3 separate regions of the Homo sapiens genome follow, and regions 1 and 2 are each linked to region 3. The links are contacts of gene promoters, found by promoter capture Hi-C in human tissues and cell types (Jung and others, 2019). All regions are on one chromosome and are shown on one strand. Each heading gives the region's core, a stretch centred on a gene start or on the middle of the fragment in contact. The rest is flanking DNA. Distances are from core to core; before and after follow the strand shown.

What was found. Contacts are between HindIII fragments. The study calls those that stand out against the background at their distance.
Region 1: a contact is called between a fragment that was not itself captured here and the fragment with the promoter of SCAMP3 in region 3, in 2 of the 25 tissues and cell types used here (IMR-90 fibroblasts and adrenal gland).
Region 2: a fragment that was not itself captured here is called in contact with the fragment with the promoter of SCAMP3 in region 3 in 1 of the 25 tissues and cell types used here (heart right ventricle).

Annotation. Positions count from the first base shown.
Region 1 is chr1:155,432,989-155,436,997 of GRCh38, reverse strand. The region is part of intron 5 of ASH1L (ASH1 like histone lysine methyltransferase); the gene reads left to right. It also overlaps the pseudogene POU5F1P4. Among named protein-coding and RNA genes, the nearest start is that of MIR555, 89 kb to the right of the region's middle. The HindIII fragment of the contact is 6,117 bases long and covers 1-4,009 here.
Region 2 is chr1:155,402,015-155,405,884 of GRCh38, reverse strand. All of the region lies in intron 6 of ASH1L (ASH1 like histone lysine methyltransferase), which reads left to right. Among named protein-coding and RNA genes, the nearest start is that of MIR555, 58 kb to the right of the region's middle. The HindIII fragment of the contact is 7,949 bases long and covers 1-3,870 here.
Region 3 is chr1:155,260,566-155,264,936 of GRCh38, reverse strand. It overlaps SCAMP3 (secretory carrier membrane protein 3), which reads left to right and starts at 2,577. Exons shown (of 9, transcript NM_005698.4): 1 at 2,577-2,851; 2 at 3,203-3,280; 3 at 4,278-4,371. The coding sequence starts at 2,786. It overlaps CLK2 (CDC like kinase 2), which reads left to right. Exons shown (of 13, transcript NM_001294338.2): 9 at 163-292; 10 at 387-469; 11 at 637-716; 12 at 897-987; 13 at 1,537-2,069. The coding sequence ends at 1,719. The HindIII fragment of the contact is 10,284 bases long and covers 1-4,371 here.

The DNA.
Region 1 (4,009 bases), core at 66-2,565, 170 kb before region 3:
TGCATGCATGGTCAGATGATTTTTGACAAAGGTGCCAAAACCATTCAGCAGGGTAAAAGACAGTCTTTTTGACAAATCATGCTGGGAAAACTGGGTATCTGCATGCAAAAGAATGAAGTTGTAGTCTTACTTTAAACCATATACAAAATCTAACTCAAAATGGATCAAAGATGTAAATGTAAAATCTAAAACCAGAAACTCTTGGCCAGGCGTGGTGGCTCACGCCTGTAATTCTAGCAGTTTGGGAGGCCAAGGTGGGCGGATCACGAGGTCAGGAGTTCAAGACCAGCCTAACCAACATAGTGAAACCCCGTCTCTACTAAAAATAGAAAAATTAGCCAGGCGTGGTGGTGTGTGCCTGTAATCCCAGCTACTTGGGAGGCTGAGGCAGGAGAATTGCTTGAACCCAGGAGGCGGAGGTTGTGATGAGCCGAGATTGCGCCACTGCACTCCAGCCTGGGTGACAAAGCGAGACTCCTTCTCAAAAAAAAAAAAAAAAAAAAAAAGTCCACGCATGGTGGCTCACGCCTGTAATCCCAGCACTTTGGGAGGCTGAGGCAGCTGGATCACCTGAGGGTCAGGAGTTCGAGACCGGCCTGATCAACATGGAGAAACCCCGTCTCTACTAAAAATACAAAATTAGCTGGGCATGGTGGCACATGCCTGTAATCCCGGCTACTCAGGAGGCTGAGGCAGGAGAATCCCTTGAACACGGGAGGTGGAGAGGTTGCAGTGAGCCGAGATTGCACCATCACACTCCAGCCTGGGCAACAAGAGCGAAACTTTGTCTCAAAATAAATAAATAAATAAATAAAAATAAAACTGTAAACTCTTAGGAGAAAATATAGGGCAAAAGCTTCACAGCATTGAATTTGGCCGTGATTTCTTAGATGTAATAACAAAGCCACAGGCAATAAACCATTCTTATTTTTATTTATTTATTTTTTGAGATGGAGTTTCACTCTGTCACCCAGCCTGGAGTGCAATGGCACGATCTCCACTCACTGCACCCTCCACCTCGTGGTTTCAAGTGATTCTCCTGCTTCAGCCTCTTGAGCAGCTGTGATTACAGGTGCGCACCACCATGCCTGGCTAATTTTTGTATTTTTAGTAGAGACGAGGTTTCACCATGTTGGCCATGCTAGCCTCGAACTCCTGACCTCAGGTGATCCACCCGTCTCAGCCTCCCAAAGTGCTGGGATTACAGGCGTGAGCCACCACGCCTGGCCCATATTTAATATTTTTTAATGAACCAATTTAATGTTCATCATTTATAAATGGCTTTTCTTAATGTGGCATGTTCACTCTTACTCATATTCTCTATCATCTCTCCTGGTGAATCCTGTATAGAGAGGGTTTTTTTTTTTTTCCATCCACCTATATAAAAATAATTGCTTTTTTCTAGAGAATATATTTTTTAATTTCAGGAGCAATACACGCTGGTAATAAATAATTTAATTAAACTAGTAGTTTACTGATTTAAAAGTAAAAGTCTCTTTTCACATGCTCTCACTTGCTCTTATCCCATTCTTCTCTCCATGGATAACGCTATTAACAGTACATTGTGTATTCTTTAATGCTGAGAGCTTGTCATCAGAACATACAGAATTACCTTATACTGTGGTAGGAATATATCATAATTTATGTAATTACACTGTTGTGATTGACTAGATCTTGCTTTTTTATATTTAGCTCTTTATGTCACTTATGTAATACTGAATATTAGCTATGAGTTAGAGGTTTAATTTTCTTTCAGTACTATTGATTAGTTTAGCCATTCCCAACTTATTTGGAATGATACATTTATCATACACTAAGTTTTTGTTGTTGCTGTTGTTGTTATTGTTTTTGAGACCGAGTCACCCAGGCTGGAATGCAGTGGCGCAATCTTGGCTCACTGCAACCTCTGTCTCCTGGGTTCAAGTGATTCTCATGCCTCAGCCACCCAAGTAGCTGGGATTACAAGCATGCGCCACCATGCCCAGCTAATTTTTGTATTTTTAGTAGAGACGGGGTTTCCCCATGTTGGCCAGGCTGGTCTTGAACTCCTGACCTCAAGTGATCCGCCTGCCTTGGCCTCCCAAAGTACTGTGATTACAGGCATGACTCACCACACCCAGCACTAAATTCTTTTTTTCTTTTTTTTTGAGACGGAGTCTCGCTCTGTCGCCCAGGCTGGTATACAGTGGCACAATCTCGGCTCACTGCAACCTCTGCCTCCCAGGTTCAAGTGATTCTCCTCCTGAGTAGCTGGGATTACAGGCGCACACCACCACACCACCATGCCTGGCTAATTTTTTTGTATTTTTAGTAGAGACGGGTTTTTACCATATTGGTCAGGCTGGTCTCAAACTCCTGACCTGATGATCCTCCCGCCTCGGCCTCCCGAAGTGCTGGGATTACAGGTGTGAGCTACGGCGCCCCACCATCCTAAATTCTTATATACTGTTAGATCTTAGGGTCTTTTCAATTTTTTTTTTTTTTTTTTTTTTTTACTGTGTCCCAGGCTTAAGAAAAAAGTGATACATGATGTGGGATTAAAATCAAGAACATCATTGAACTTCACCTTCCCTCCAACCAGTTGCCCCAAACTCCCCTGCCCCCACCCTTTGTGTTCCCAATTCCTTCCTTAGTGAATGAAGAACTTAATTCCAAAAGCCCTGGCACAAACTCCAGGTTCTCTTTCCCTAGCTCCTCCCCTCCCCCTGTCCCCCATTCCTAGAAGGGCAGGCACCTCAGTTTGAATGCATGGGAGAGCCCAGGGTGGTGACGGAGACGGGGGAAAGGCTTCCCCCTCAGGGAAAGGGACCGAGGAGTACAGTGCAGTGAAGTGAGGGCTCCCATAGCCTGGGGTACCAAAATGGGGCCCTGGGGCCAGAGGAAAGGATACTGGTACCCCTGAGAAAGGAGACCCAGCAGCCTCAAAATCCTCTCGTTATGCATAGTCGCTGCTTGATTGCTTGCCTTTCTGGCACCGGTTACAGAACCACACTCGGACCACATCCTTCTCGAGCCCAAGCTGCTGGGCGATGTGGCTGATCTGCTGCAGTGTGGGTTTCGGGCACTGCAGGAACAAATTCTCCAGGTTGCCTCTCACTCGGTTCTCGATACTGGTTCGCTTTCTCTTTCGAGCCTGCAAGAGGGTTTCTGCTTTGCATGTCTCCTGAAGATTTTCATTGTTGTCAGCTTCCTCCACCCACTTCTGCAGCAAGGGCCGCAGCTTACACATGTTCTTGAAGCTAAGCTGCAGACCCTCAAAGCGGCAGATGGTCGTTTGGCTGAACACCTTCCCAAATAGAACCCCCAGGGTGAGCCCCACATCGGCCTGTGTATATCCCAGGGTGATCCTCTTCTGCTTCAGGAGCTTGGCAAATTGTTCGAGTTCTTTCTGCAGAGCTTTGATGTTCTGGGACTCCTGCGGGTTTTGCTCCAGCTTCTCCTTCTCCAGTTTCACGGCACCAGGGGGGACGGTGCAGGGCTCCAGGGAGGTGCCATCGGAGTTGCTCTCCACCCTGACTCCTGCTTCGCCCTCAGGCTGAGAGGTCTCCAAGCCGCCTTGGGGCACTAGCCGCACTCCAACCTGAGGCCCACAGTACGCCATCCCCCCACAGAACTCATACAGCGGGGGGCATGGGGGAATCCCCCACACCTCAGAGCCTGACCCAACTCCCGGCCCGATTCCTGGCCCTCCAGGAGGGCCTTGGAAGCTTAGCCAGGTCCGAGGATCAACCCAGCCCGGCTCCGGCCCCCCTGGCCCATCACCTCCACCGCCTGGAGGGGGCAAGAAGGCAGGCATCCGAAGCCAGGTGTCCCGCCATGGGGAAGGAAGGCGCCCCAAGCTGGGGGCCTGGTGAAATGTCAAATATTTTTATATTCCTTTCTATCAGTCTATTTTGGTATCTCTGTCATAGCAGTTTAATTATTGAAGCTTTAAAACACTGACAAGGAGGATGATTTCTGCCTTTACTGTAGTTTGAGACATCTTGACCATTTATGTTAGGAAGGGTCA
Region 2 (3,870 bases), core at 741-3,240, 140 kb before region 3:
ATCTGTGAATATGGGATGTCTTTCCATTTATTTTGACTTTTTTTTTTTTTTTTTTGACACAGAGAATCGCTCTCTCACCCAGACTGGAGTGCAGTGGCCTGATCTTGGCTCACTGCAACCTCCACCTCCCAGGTTCAGGTGATTCTCCTGCCTCAGCCTCCCAAACAGATGGGGCTACAGGCCCACACCACCATGCCCGGCTAATTTTTTGTAGTTTTGTAGAGACAGGGTTTCATCATGTTGGTCAAGCTGATCTTGAACTCCTGACCTCAGGTGATTCACTCACCTAGGCCTCCCAAATTGCTAAGATTACAGGGATGAGTGACCATGCCCGACCTATTTTGATCTTTAACCAAAACTTTTAACAGTGTTTGTTGTTGTTGTTTTGTTTGTTTGTTTTAATGAGACTGAGTCTCACTCTGTCGCCTAGGCTTGAGGGCAGCGGCTTCATCTCGGCTCACTGCAACTTCCCCCTCTTGGGTTCAAGTGATTCTCGTGCCTCAGCCTCCTGATTAGCTAGGAATATGGGTGCATGCCAACACACCTGGCTAATTTTTATATTTTTGTAGAGACAGGGTTTCACCATGTTGGCCAGGCTGGTCTCGAACTCCTGACCTCAAGTGATCTGCCCCCCCCTCAGCCCCCTAAAGTGCTGGGATTACAGGCACGAGTCACTGCCCCTGGCCTCAAAACTTTTAACAGTGTTTTATAGTTTTTAGTGTACAGGTGCTATTCTTCTTTTGTTAATCTTGTTCCCAAGAATTTTTTTTTAATTTACTGCTATTGTAATTGTTGTAATTGGAATTGGATTTTTTATTTTTATTTTTTTATTTTTATTCTATTATTATTATTTTTTTTTAGATGGAGTCTCACTCTGTCACCAGGCTGGCGTGCAGTGGTGCGGTCTCAGCTTACTGCAACCTCTGTTTCCCAGGTTCAAGCGATTCTCCTGCCTCAGCCTCCCGAGTAGCTGGGACCACAGGCACGCACCACCACACTCAGCTGATTTTTGTGTTTTTAGTAGAGAAAGAGTTTCACCGTGTTGGCCAGGACGGTCTCGATCTCTTGACCTCGTGATCCGCCTGCCTCAGCCTCCCAAAGTGCTGGGATGACAGGCATGCCACCACGCCCAGCCCTCCAATTGGATATTTTAAATTAAATTTTTGGATTGTTTATTGCTATGTATAGAAATACAATTGATTTTTTTTTCCCACCAGTTTACCCTGACAGATGTGTTTCATGTATTGAGTTTGTCTCCTGTAACCTAGGTGTTAGTCCTAAGAGTCTTTTAGTGGATTCCGTCATGTGTGTCTTGACTTTGCTTAAGATCATTCACATCGTCACCACATCTAGCTAATTTTTTTATTTTTTGTAGAGACAATGAGGTCTTGCCATGTTGCCTGAGCTGGTCTTGAGCTCCTGGCCTCAAGTGATCCTCCTGCCTTGTCCTTCCAAAGTGTTGGGATTACAGGGGTTAGCCACTATATCTGGCCTTTATTTTTAAATTGCTTCTGGATTTTTTTCTTTTTTAAAGACAGAGTCTACCTCTCATCCAGACTAGAGTACAGTGGCATAATACCAGCTCACTACAGTCTCCACCTCCTAGACTCAAGCGTTCATCTTACCTCAGCCTCCTCCAGTAGCTGGGACTACAGGTACATGCCACCACACTGGACTAATTTTTTTATTTTTTCAGAGACAGGGTCTCTCTATGTTGCCCAGGCTGGTCTTGAACTCTTGAGTCAAGTCCCTCTTTGGCCTCCCAAAGTGCTAGGATTGTAGGTGTGAGCCACCGTGCCCAGGTTGCTTCCTTTTTTTTTTTTTTTTTGAGACGGAGTTTCGTTCTTGTTGCCCAGGCTGGAGTGCAATGGTGCGTTCTTGGCTCACTGCAACCTCTGCCTTCCAGGTTCAAGCGATTCTCCTGCCTCAGCCTCCCGAGTAGCTGGGATTACAGGCATGGCATCACCATACCTGGCTATTTTTTTTTTTTTTTAATGGTAGGAACGGCCTTTATTGGCTGCAGCAGGAAGTGAAAGAGGGGATACAGCTTCTGCAGAATAGATCGCCGCCCTCCAAAAAAAGCTTCTGTATTTCAAGTCATTAGAAAAGCTCTCCCACACACAAATTTTAAGCAAGTAAGAAATTTACTTTTGTTTTCTTCTGGTAATTGCTTGGATTCAATTTTTGCATCTAGTTCCCTAATATATTTGGAATTTTTTCAGGTATATTAGTCTGGGCTAATACTGAAGAAGTAAAAAGAAAGTTAATACTTCTTGCATACCTATTATGTGCCAGTTACTGTGCTAATGAGTTTATATATGTTATCTTATAAATTTATTCAAGAACCTTGTGAGAGAACAGGTATTATTAATATTATTGAAGAAGCTAAGGCTTAGAGAATTAGAGAAACTTAAGTAATTTGTCTAGAGTTTTACAGTTAGTCAATAGCATAGTTAACATTTGAGTTCTGGCAATAATTGGCTGCAGAGTTGTTTGTACTTTTCCCTACTTTACTTAGCTTCTACAGTACTGACATATCTTTTGTGGGTTTTTTTGGTTTTTTTTGAAACAGGAGTTTCACTCCATTGCCTAGGCTGGTCTGAAACTCCTGGGATCCTTCCACAATGATCCTTCAGCTGCAACCTCCAAAAGGCTGGGATTAGAGGCATTTGCACCACCACCAGCTCTTTTTTTTTTTTGAGATGGAGTTTCGCTCTTGTCACCCAGACTGGAGTGCAATGGCACGATCTTGGCTCACTGTAACCTCTGCCTCCCAGGTTCAAGCGATTCTCCTGTCTCAGCCTCCCAAGTAGCTGGGATTACAGGCGTGCGCTACCACACCTGGCTAATTTGTGTATTTTTTTTTTTTTAGTAGAGACGGGTTTCACCATGTTGGCCAGGCTGGTCTTGAACTCCTGACCTTAGGTGATCCACCCACCTCAGCTTCCCAAAGTGCTGGGATTACAGGCAACCATACCCGGCCTTCAATGTCTTTTTATGCTGAAAAAAAAAAAAAAAAAAAGTATAACTTGGCTGGGTGTGGTGGCTCATACTTGTAATCCCAGTACTTCGGGAGGCCAAGGTAGGAGGATTGCTTGAGGCCAGGAGTTTGAGACCAGCCTAGACATCATGGTGAGGACCCCATCTCTACAAAAAGTTTTTAAATAATTATCCAGGCATAGTGGCACACAGACCTGTAGTCCTAGTTACTCAGTAGACTGGGATGGTGGGATTGCTTGAGCCTTAGGAGTTCAAGGCTGCATTGAATTATGATTGCACCACTGTACAACCTGGGTGGCAGAACAAGGCCCTGTCTTTAAAAACAAAACAAAGCAGTAAAACATGGATAACTTGTCTGGACCATTTGATTAATTCCTTTTTTTTATTTAAAAGATTAGCTCTAGAATAACATGTCCATTTTTTACATTCTGTACTTTTTAGCATAAAGTTTATATAGTAATCTGAAATATAATTTTACCTTTTTATCTAAAAGTGCCGTATTCCTTGAGGATTTTAAGTTGTGCAGTAAAATGGTCTGGATTGGAGCAAGGTTAGGGAAAGGTGACATTATGAAAAAATGATGCCTCCCCCTTCTTCAAATTCATATCCCCAGGGCAAAAGTTGCCATATTGTTTATGAAAGAACATTAAGGGAGTCTGTTTTCCTGTTGTCTGTAGATGATGTTCAGAAGTATTTTAACCCTGATATGATGTTTGTTTGTTTGTTTGTTTGTTTGTTTGAGACGGAGTCTGGCAGTGGCACAATCACCATGCCCAGCTAGTATGATTTTTTTTTTTTAGACAGTCTTGCTCTGTCACCCAGGCTGGTGTGCAGTGGTGCAACCTTGGCTCACTGCAACCTCCACCTCCT
Region 3 (4,371 bases), core at 1,328-3,827:
ATGCTGGATGTGGTGGAAGCTGTAAAACAGGAATTTCCCAGGGCTTGTAAGGCCAGGCAGGAGATCACAGTACCTTTTTTAAGGCTCAGAAGCAATGTAGAGAATACTGGTGGAATCTCAGTCTGGGTGCAGAGGTTCATCCTCTTTCTCCTCTGCTCCTAGAAGCGAGATGAGCGCAGTGTGAAGAGCACAGCTGTGCGGGTGGTAGACTTTGGCAGTGCCACCTTTGACCATGAGCACCATAGCACCATTGTCTCCACTCGCCATTACCGAGCACCAGAAGTCATCCTTGGTAAGGGAGGGCAAGGCTGTCCAAGTGTGTGAGATGATGTGAGGGTGGGGCCACCTAAGCCTCATAACACCTTTTCCCTCCCATTCTCACCCAGAGTTGGGCTGGTCACAGCCTTGTGATGTGTGGAGTATAGGCTGCATCATCTTTGAATACTATGTGGGATTCACCCTCTTCCAGGTAAGTGATGGGATGTCTTACTTGACTGCCTGGCATTCTTCTACCTGGTTCCTTTGTTTTCTGCTGAGGACCTGCCTACTCAGTTCTCCACATTGCCTGCCTTCCTGGCAGCTGATCCTTAGCATGCCCTTTTCAGTCCCATGCTCAGTTCTGTTTTTGTTTCCCAGACCCATGACAACAGAGAGCATCTAGCCATGATGGAAAGGATCTTGGGTCCTATCCCTTCCCGGATGATCCGAAAGACAAGGTGAACCTTGAGGGGGCACTAGTTAACTCTTTTCCTTTTCTCTCCACAGAATTGGTCTATTTCACATCATTTTCTTTTTTCTTTGATACCTCCTCTCCCCCCAGTTACTTTCAGATGGGGAAATAAGGGAATTGTAACAAGGGTGACCTTCTGATTCCTCAACCTCCCCTTCCCCTCTAGAAAGCAGAAATATTTTTACCGGGGTCGCCTGGATTGGGATGAGAACACATCAGCTGGGCGCTATGTTCGTGAGAACTGCAAACCGCTGCGGGTGAGCTGGGCTCGGGATAAATAGTGCCCACCGTCCAGAAGTCACTTCCTTCTTAGGGTGGTTTGCCCCCTGGAATGCTCTTCACAAGCAGAGGGTTAGGAAAGGAGGGGAGGAAAGCTGAAAGAAGACATCTTTGGTCAACAGAGGAAACATAAGAGGGAGTGGTTTTGTGGAGGGAAGGAGGTTAGACAGCCTAACCTTGAGACAACCAGAGATCAAAGCAATGTCCTGGATTCTTTAGGTCAGACAGAAAAGAATAAACTACCTTTGAAGAGCTTACATTTTAATGAGGAACTAAAGAAGATTCATGAAGTTGACAAGGATATACAAGTAGAAAGAACTTTCAAAGATTATGGAGTAATTGTGCTAGTGGGAAGGTAGGTTGAGCTATAATATCAGAAACGTTGGTCCTGGTGTGGTCGTGGTTAGGTAGCCTTCAAATTGGTTGCAAGCAGAGCCTTGGTTCTCCAAGAATGAAAGGTAGGGTCTTGAAGAAGGCAGGGTTTGTAAGGCATCCTGCCTCACCTTTTTCCTGCCCTCCTCCACCAGCGGTATCTGACCTCAGAGGCAGAGGAACACCACCAGCTCTTCGATCTGATTGAAAGCATGCTAGAGTATGAACCAGCTAAGCGGCTGACCTTGGGTGAAGCCCTTCAGCATCCTTTCTTCGCCCGCCTTCGGGCTGAGCCGCCCAACAAGTTGTGGGACTCCAGTCGGGATATCAGTCGGTGACGATCAGGCCCTGGGCCCCCCTGCATCTTTTATAGCAGTGGGTGTCCAGTCCAGGACACTGGTGCTTTTTTATACAAGAGAACGAGCCAGAGTTCACTCCTTCCTCCTGGCTCTCTATATACCTGTGAATATGTGAAATAGTGTAAATATGAAAGAACTTGTACCTATCACTTCAACCCCTGCCTTGTACATAATACTATTCCATCCACACAGTTTCCACCCTCACCTGCCCCCTCATACGGAGTTGGATGGGGGCCGAGTGAGGTAACCAGGTGGCATCTACCCCATGTTTTATAAGGAATTTTGTACAGTCTTTGTGAAATAAAATAACGTGCTTCATTTGACCCCCATCCCTGGAGTTGGAGGTTTGGGAATGCTGGGGTGGAGGGATGAAACTATTGGCAAACTTTCTGAGTTTGGGTATGAAGGGAGTCCTCCTTACCCTCCAAAATGAAGCACAGCCAGGCTACCAGTTTATTTCCCCTGTCCACCTTATCATATGGGAGGGTAGTGATGGGTGGGGCAGCATTTCTTTCAGATTAAAACAGAGAAGTGTTATGAGGTGGCACTTCTCGGATGTGGAATTATGAGAGTTGGGAAAGATCTGACTCCTAGAGTCATTAGGCCGCGGCCCAGTATAGAGCCAGAAACTCAGGTTGAAAACGTGCTCAACCTGGCTCCTAGGGGGGATTGCCACGACCGGTCAGAAGGCTCCCGTCGTCCATCTCGGGAGACTAGGAAGGCCGGATTCCTACGCGAGGCCTGCTGGGAAGTGTAGTTCGTTAGTGGAAGGAAGTCACATGGAAGAGGGGCGGTAGTTGGTTGTGGGCACTGGGTTAGAGGTATCACGTGGGGGCACTTTCGTCTTAGCTTTTGGACAAGACGCAGGCGCAACCCACGGCTGCTGCGGGGATCCTTGTGGCCCTTCCGGTCGGTGGAACCAATCCGTGCACAGAGAAGCGGGGCGAACTGAGGCGAGTGAAGTGGACTCTGAGGGCTACCGCTACCGCCACTGCTGCGGCAGGGGCGTGGAGGGCAGAGGGCCGCGGAGGCCGCAGTTGCAAACATGGCTCAGAGCAGAGACGGCGGAAACCCGTTCGCCGAGCCCAGCGAGCTTGACAACCCCTTTCAGGTGACTTGCGCCAGTCGGCCTCTTTTGGGCGGTCAGGTTGATTCTTCCCGGTTCTGTAGGGTCGGGCTAACTTGTATCCCCATTTGTGACATTTGATCCTGGGAAGAGCCGCCACGTGGGGTGACAGTGACTCCAGACCAGTGAGCACTCTGGGGGGCGGGCCCTGCCCCTTAATGGGCTGGTGCTGGCAGTGTTGGATGATGGATTTGAGGTAAATGTTGTCCCAGTCCTGGGACAACGGCGTGGCCCCGAAGGTGCAGTACTTGGAGCCACAGGCAGTTTGGGAATGGTCCCTGGGAATTCCCCTAGGTGGCACTGGGTGCCAGCTGAGACCCGGGTCTCTGCCCTCAGGACCCAGCTGTGATCCAGCACCGACCCAGCCGGCAGTATGCCACGCTTGACGTCTACAACCCTTTTGAGACCCGGGAGGTGAGCTACTGGAGAGCATAGGAGTTCAAGGAAGGGAAGGGTTTGCCAGTGAGACAAGTTAGCTTGGGTACAGGGGACTTTTCTGCATGCACAGGAAGGAAGAGGCACTGTGATCTTAGTTCCCTGAGAGAGGCTAGTCAGCCATGGGATGCCTCATCCTTCTAGGGCCACCAGGGCCACCAACCCAAATGGTTTGAGCTCTAAAAGTCAGTCCTGGGAAGATCTGGAGGCTGGCAAGGCCTTAACCAATGTTCTGTATGGGAAGGCTTTCTTGAAGAAAATAAAGGTTGGGGCTGGTTGGAGTTTAGGTTAGGTGTGCAGTTTGAAAGCAAGGAATGAGGAGGACTACACCTGTTTGTCCCACTGGATTAGAAGATGGTGAGTTGTAAGAATTTAAGGGGTTTTCATGGTACTTAAAACTTAAAAAAAAAAGCCAAGCATGGTGTGCATGCCTGTAATCCCACTTGGGAGGCTGAGGTGGGAGGATTGCTTGAGCCCAGGAATTTGATGGAGACCATCCTGGGCAACAGCGAGACCCCCATCTCTTGAAACGTTTTAAAAATTGGCTAGGTGTAGTGGCACATGCCTGTAGTCCTTGCTACTTGGGAGGCTGGGATGGAAAGACTGCTTGGGCCCAGGAGTTTGAGGCTTCGATGAGTGATGATTGCACCACTGCACTCCAGCCTGGGTGGCAGAGAGACAACCCCACACTCCATCCCCAGAAGAAAAGAAAAAAAAAAAACACAGTTAAGTGGGGAGATATGGTAAATGAGTGATTTGAGTCCTCACTAAGGAATTGGATATGAGGGATGATAAGGCTGCTACAGGTCATCATAGAGTTCTCTGACAGAAATTCAACAGAAGAACTAGCTTCCTAACAAATGGGGGAAAGGCTGCTTCCTTACATCATGAGTTCTGGGTCTAAAGGTATTCAAGCAGACTCTAGATTCCTGTGTTATGAGGGACTAGATGATCACTAAGGTCTTTTCCTCAACAGCCACCACCAGCCTATGAGCCTCCAGCCCCTGCCCCATTGCCTCCACCCTCAGCTCCCTCCTTGCAGCCCTCGAGAAAGCTCAGCCCCACAGAAC